Regions from separate parts of the Homo sapiens genome. Here region 1 is linked to region 2. The links are contacts of gene promoters, found by promoter capture Hi-C in human tissues and cell types (Jung and others, 2019). All regions are on one chromosome and are shown on one strand. Each heading gives the region's core, a stretch centred on a gene start or on the middle of the fragment in contact. The rest is flanking DNA. Distances are from core to core; before and after follow the strand shown.

Region 1 (3,452 bases), core at 543-3,042, 1.4 Mb before region 2:
GCTGTTACCGGCAGCCTCTGACTGTGCCCCTTCTGGTGGCGGGAGGCTCCGGCCCAGCGGCCAGTCAGCAGGGTCAAGGAGGACGGGGGTTCCTACGCCGGCTAAGCTGTGTCCCCACTGCCAGGACCCGTCTCAGTGGGGGAGCCCCGTTCTACATGCCCCCCCCTCAGCGGCCCTGTGCACCCACAGGACCGACTCCCCTCTCCCCCCGGTCTGTCCTCAGCCACACGCACAGATGGAGGAACGTGGAGCAGAGGGTGCCGTGTCCCAAGCCCAGAACCAAGCCTGGGGGCCCTGGGGCTGCAGAGCGACACCCCTCCTGGCTCCCGAGTCGGGGACCTTCAGAACGTGGGATCCAGGACCCAGGTAGAGGCTCTCACTGCCCACGGAACAAACCAGGGTCCAGGTGGTTAGTGAGGGGCTCCCGCGCACCAGGCAGGACTGCGTGTCTGGGCCAGTGCGCTGAGCCCTCTCGGTCAGCCTGCGGGAGCCTCTCTTCCCTACATCTCAGCCTCACTGTCACCTCGGCCCTGCTGAACAGGTGCCACCCCCGCGAGCAGGGTCTCAAACCAGCTCACTCTGGAAGGCGCTGGGAGAGGCTCAGACCAGCTCACTCTGGAGGGCGCCGGAAAGGGCCCCGGCCTCACTCTGGAGGGCGCCGGGAGGGGCCCCGGTCAGGGCAACGCTCGCCCAACCTTAGGAGGTTGAGGCCGTCGCACCCGTGTTCCCCTGGGCCCCCACCCCTCCCTCCAAGAGGCCCAGAAGCACAGGAGGAAGGTCACGGGGCGTCCCTCCTACCTGTCCCTCAGGTTGTCGATGAAGCGCTTGGTGAAGGACTTGACTTTGTCCACGAGGGCCCCGTAGGGCTTCAGCCTCAGGGCCACGCTCTCAGAGGTGTCCAGCACAAAGAACAGGTCCACGGGGCAGTCTGGCCGAAGATGGAGGAGAGGGGCCTTCAAGCTCTCGCCCCATTCCCCGAGTCTCTGCTGGGCCTGCCCTCCCGGCCAGCCCAGCGCCTGCAGCACAGAGCCCCGGGCCCGGAGAGGCTCTCCCGGGAAAAGGCAGCAGGACGTCCCTCGGTGGGGACGGTGGGGAGGGGGTGGAGTGAGAGACCCCAAACCGCTCCTGTGCCTCGAGGGGAGTCAGAAACCTTCACAACCTCCCCCGAAGGGCAGGGCGTCCCCGGCACGGGACCGGACAAGTGAGACCTCACGGGAAGGTTTCTCGCTGGATTCAGAACCAGCAGCGCACGACTTCTTCTAGAACGGGGGTCGGGGGGGCCGTGCGTCTGGACTCACTGCCAGGTGAGGGGTCAAACGGATTCACGGGGCGCCGAGACAGCCCCGCACCAGCTCCCCCTCGCCAGGGAGCCCCTCCCGAGCTGCCTGCGGTCCGGCCCCGCTGAGAATGCTGAATGCTGAGCCTCTAGGGGCCCCGGCCAAGGCCCGGTGGGGCAGAGCTGGGCGCTGCAGCCGCCCCGAGCGGGGAGTGGGGTTCAGGGGCTCCAGGCCCCCAGTCTGCAGTTCCACGCGTGGGAGGGGACCCCGCGCATCTGGCCCTGGCCGGCAGCAAAGAGCGGGGGGTCTGGAGCCTGCACCCCAAGCCACCACTCACCCTGGAAGGCCACGGCCCTCGGGGTCTCCGGCTCATCCTGCGCGGCTGTCCAGCAGGCCTGCAGCAGCAGGGGCAGCAGAGCACGGGCCGCCCTCATGTCTGGGGCCTGCGGTCACCACACAGCGCGGCCAGGGCAGAGTGGGCCGCCGCCGCCGCCCAGAGACCGAGGCTGCCTTCTGCTCCCAGCCAGAGTGAGAGCGGAGGGCAAGGAGGGGAGGGGCGGGGCGAGAGGGGCGGGAGGGGAGGGGAGGGGCGGGAGGGGAGGGGAGGGGCGGGGCGGGAGGAGAGGGGAGGGGAGGGGAGGGGCGGGAGGAGAGGGGAGGGGCGGGAGGGGAGGGGCGGGGCGGGAGGGGAGGGGCGGGGCGGGGCGGGGAGGAGCGGCCCATGAGTCACCACCTCCTTGCTGGGGTCTCTCCCTCCAGAACCGGCAGCAGCTCCGAGCCCAGGGAGAAGGCGGTTTCCCTGGCTGGCTCGCCGCGGCCTGCAGTTCAGTTCCCGTGTCAGGGAGGAGGAAACTGCAGCAGCTGAATCAAACGTCTGAAAACCAGCGTGTCACCCAGGGAGAGTTCCTTGAAACATCTTTCGGTAGTTTCCAATCCAGACGTCTCCATGCGGGACGCACGGGCAGGCTCACTCGCCTCTTCCCACCAACCGCCTCCTGCAGAGGACCTCGCCGTGAGCTGAATTGTTGCTTTATCAGATCTCCGCGTTCTTTTTTCACGTCAATATTTCTTCACAGTATAGTCGGATACGTATTTGCCAAAGATATTTCAGTTTGTACCGTGGGAAGACAAAGTTGCTCACAATATAGTTGTTATATATGCTGTGTGTGGAGACAGAGAGACAGAGACAGAGAGACAGAGAGAGACAGTGAGAGAGAGACAGAGAGACAGAGACAGAGAGACAGACAGAGACACAGACAGAGGAGAGACAGAGACAGAGAGAGAGACAGAGACAGAGAGAGACAGAGAGACAGAAAGACAGAGAGAGACACAGAGAGACAGAGGAGAGACAGAGACAGAGAGACAGAGACAGAGAGACACAGAGAGACAGAGAGACAGAGAGACAGAGACAGAGAGAGAGACAGTGAGAGACAGAGACAGAGAGACACAGAGACAGAGAGACAGAGAGAGACAGAGACAGTGAGAGAGAGACAGAAAGACAGAGACAGAGAGACAGACACAGAGAGACAGAGGAGAGACAGAGACAGACAGAGAGAGACAGAGACAGAGAGAGACAGAGAGACAGACAGAGAGAGACAGAGAGAGAGACAGAGACAGAGACACAGAGAGAGGAGAGACAGAGAGAGACAAAGACAGAGACAGAGAGACAGAGACAGAGAGAGACAGAGAGGAGAGACAGACAGAGACGGAGAGACAGAGACAGAGAGACAGAGACAGAGAGACAGAAAGAGAGACAGAGAGAGGAGAGAGGGGCTGTCCCTGATATCACCTGGGGGTGGGCTCCAGATGTGGCCAGATGCATCCCTGGCCCACAGAAGGTCCCAGAAGAGCTTTCCCAAAGCTGGAGCTGCTGAGACTTGCCTAACACCAGCCTAAATGTCTTATAATTTTAAAACGTACACAAATTGTTCATACCAAAAACCATGTTAAAGAAACATTTGAAAAAACCTTTAAAATTGATACTTAATTCCACAACTCCACAGTGACTGTTTTTGGATTGCCTTCAATATTTTCCCCACACCTACGTTACAGAAGTTGTAAAGTACTTCTCCTTCTTTTCCTCCTCCTCCTCCTCCTCCTCCTCCTTATTATTATTATTATTATCTAAGGGGCTCACTCTGTCATCCAGGCTGGAACGTAGTGGCCTCATCACAG
Region 2 (3,211 bases), core at 616-3,115:
CTAATTTGATTGCACTGTGGTCCGGTAGACTTTGTTATGATTTCAGTTCTTTTGCATTTGCTGAGGAGTGTTTTACTTTCAATTATAAAGTCAATTTTAGAATAAGTGCCATGTGACACTGAGAAGAATGTATCTTCTGTTGATTTGGGGTGGAGAGTTCTGCAGATGTCTATTAGGTCCATTTGATCCAGAGCTGAGTTCAAGTTCTGAATATCCTTGTTAATTTTCTGTCACATTGATCTGTCTAATATTGACAGCAGGGTGTTAAAGTTTCCCACTATTATTGTGTGGGAGTCTAAGTCTCTTTGTAGGTCTCTAAGAGCTTGTTTTATGAAACTGGGTGCTTTTATATTTGGTGCATATATATTTAGGATAATTAGCTCTTCTCATTGAATTGATCCCTTTATCATTATGTAATGCCCTTCTTTGTCTTTTTTGATCTTTGTTGGCTTAAAGTCTGTTTTATCAGAGACTAGGATTGCAACCCCTGCTTACGTTGCTTTCCATTTGCTTGGTACATTTTCCTCCATTCCTTTATTTTGAGCCTATGTGTGTCTTTGCAAGTGAGATGGGTCTCCTGAATACAGCACACTGACGGGTCATGACTCTTCATCCAATTTGCCAGTCTGTGTCCAGCTATTATTTCTATGAAATAATATTTTTCCACTGTAGTCTGACTTTGCCAGGTAGTCCTCCAACAGAGCCCTTAGCCATACTCATCAAAGGTCAGAGGCTTCAAACCCTGCAGCCTATGGGCCCCCACCAAGCACTCAGTGGACCCCTGGCCTAATTTTGGAAAGCCCTGCAGCCTAGAGCATCATCAGAGCCTCTGCCTTTGCCATTTCAAAGATTTAGTAGAAAATAGCGATCATAGAGTGAGGAGATGAGGGATCCATGATCAGAACTTTGGGGGCTTACTAGCGCACAGGTATGGTCCCGGGCACAGGCATGGGCTGATACACACAGGTGTATAGGTATTTGTGAGACAAGGCTCTGCAATCAGACCCTTTTATTTGTACATTTACTATGACAATGTCCAGGAGCCAACAGTAGAACTAATACATTCTGATGACTTTCTGGCCCATAAGGGAAGAGACCTTGGAGCTCCCAAGGACACCATTGCAGGTGATGTTGCCCGAGATGTGAGAGGAGAAGGTGTGAACACTATTGTGCACACCACCGGGGGAAGGCCCCATAACAGTTCAACGTGAAATGAAACAAAGGTGCTTGCCCCTCATCTCCATCCCTACTGTGCTGGGCCTGCAGCTGCCTCCCTGCTCCCCTCTGCGAGCCAATCTCTGCCCAGGAAGACACTATTCCCTCACACCTGCCCCAGGGCTCACCCCCAGCAGAAATATGCCCCATGGTTCCCACTGACAACCAGCAGTGTCAACCCACAGGGTGGATCTCGCCGTGTGGCCAGGCCAACTGAGCATCTTCAAACTTGTCCACAGCAGAACACATCTCTCCCTTTCCTCAAGGCCCAGAAACTGAGGTTCTCCTAACCTCATCCCTCCTTAGGTGTAGAAGTCTTTTTTTAAGTGCAAACTCCTCCTGGGATGGAGCAGAGGGCTGTCAATTCCAGAATATCTCCTAACTGCCACTGTCCCTGCTTCTGCAGTGTGCTTTGATGCAATCAATATATTTCTACTAGTTTATCTCTGTGGACAAGCCCACATTAGGGAAGCCCTAACTCCAGTCAGGAGCCTCACAAACCAGAACATCCACAAACAATGAACCAACACTACTAACACAACAGTGCCTACAACAACAACAAGGAAGAGGAAGGCTTCTCGAAGCCAGGCAGGGGCAGCACAATCAACACAGAGGGGTATAAAGGTTCCGACCACTCAGAGGCCTGGCACGATCACTCACTCACTCCCTCACTCACTCCCACACTCACTCACTCACGTCTCCCCCAGCTCACCTCCTCCCCACCCCAGCATGGCCACGTCTACCATGTCCGTCTGCTCCAGCGCTTACTCTGACTCCTGGCAGGTGGACGCCTGCCCAGAGAGCTGCTGTGAGCCCCCCTGCTGCGCCACCAGCTGCTGCGCCCCGGCCCCCTGCCTGACCCTGGTCTGCACCCCAGTGAGCTGTGTGTCCAGCCCCTGCTGCCAGGCGGCCTGTGAGCCCAGCCCCTGCCAGTCAGGCTGCACCAGCTCCTGCACGCCCTCGTGCTGCCAGCAGTCTAGCTGCCAGCCAGCTTGCTGCACATCCTCCCCCTGCCAGCAGGCCTGCTGCGTGCCTGTCTGCTGCAAGCCAGTCTGCTGTGTGCCCGTCTGCTGCAAGCCTGTCTGCTGCAAGCCCATCTGCTGTGTGCCCGTCTGCTCTGGGGCTTCCTCTTCATGCTGCCAGCAGTCTAGCCGCCAGCCGGCTTGCTGCACCACCTCCTGCTGCAGACCCTCCTCCTCCGTGTCCCTCCTCTGCCGCCCCGTGTGCAGGTCCACCTGCTGTGTGCCCATCCCCTCCTGCTGTGCCCCTGCCTCCACCTGCCAGCCCAGCTGCTGCCGCCCGGCCTCCTGCGTGTCCCTCCTCTGCCGCCCCACGTGCTCCCGCCTCTCTTCCGCGTGCTGCGGCCTCTCCTCAGGCCAGAAGTCCAGCTGCTGACGGGCAGGTCCCGTTTCTCCAGAGTTGTTCCAGGGCCATCTCTGACTTCCGAAAATCCTTGCAGCCCTGAGCCCTGTCTGAGTCTCCTCTGCCCATAGCCACTGCACCTCCAGCCAGCAATGCTGAGCTTTCATGCCGATTCCCTCCAGGCATGCATCTCTCCCACACCCTCATCTCCATGCTGGCCAGCCGGTGGTCACTGTGTCCTGCCCCATGTGAGTGATCAGTCTGTCAACAAATAAAGTCACCAATGTGCCCTCTCAGAGGTCTTTTTTGCATATCTGGCAAACCCTGTGGGAAGAACTTCAACGTGCCGCGTGGGGTGGGAGCTTCGGGACTCTGGCCTTGAGCTGCATCCAGGCTGACAGCACCAGGGGCGGAGGCAGTCCTGACTTCCCGCTGTGCGGGGTCTGCTGTTGTGGGGTTCTCCTGCCAGCCTCAGCGTCTCCAGGCCCCGGGGGTGCTTCTCTGTGAATCCCCCACACCCACCCGGCCCGGCCTCTCCCTGGGCTCAGCTCCTCCCCCTCTCTCCTTCCTCTGCCTGTCTGACCCCCACTCATCATCTTCTCACCAGCCCTCTCTTATTAAATAAAATAAATAT

What was found. The method cuts DNA at HindIII sites, captures the fragments that hold promoters and counts their contacts. A contact is called where the count stands out against the background at its distance.
Region 1: a contact is called between the fragment with the promoter of COL6A1 here and the fragment with the promoter of KRTAP10-3 in region 2, in 1 of the 25 tissues and cell types used here (dorsolateral prefrontal cortex).

Annotation. Positions count from the first base shown.
Region 1 is chr21:45,980,110-45,983,561 of GRCh38, reverse strand. COL6A1 (collagen type VI alpha 1 chain) reads right to left here and starts at 1,792. Exons shown (of 35, transcript NM_001848.3): 1 at 1,615-1,792; 2 at 799-928. The coding sequence starts at 1,711. It overlaps LOC105372841 (a long non-coding RNA gene), which reads right to left. Exons shown (of 3, transcript XR_937803.3): 3 at 1,996-2,272. RefSeq lists enhancers at 311-1,171, 1,172-2,034. The HindIII fragment of the contact is 42,283 bases long and covers 1-3,452 here.
Region 2 is chr21:44,557,449-44,560,659 of GRCh38, reverse strand. KRTAP10-3 (keratin associated protein 10-3) reads left to right here and starts at 1,865. Exons shown (of 1, transcript NM_198696.3): 1 at 1,865-2,870. The coding sequence starts at 1,945. The coding sequence ends at 2,610. All of the region lies in intron 2 of TSPEAR (thrombospondin type laminin G domain and EAR repeats), which reads left to right. The HindIII fragment of the contact is 7,690 bases long and covers 1-3,211 here.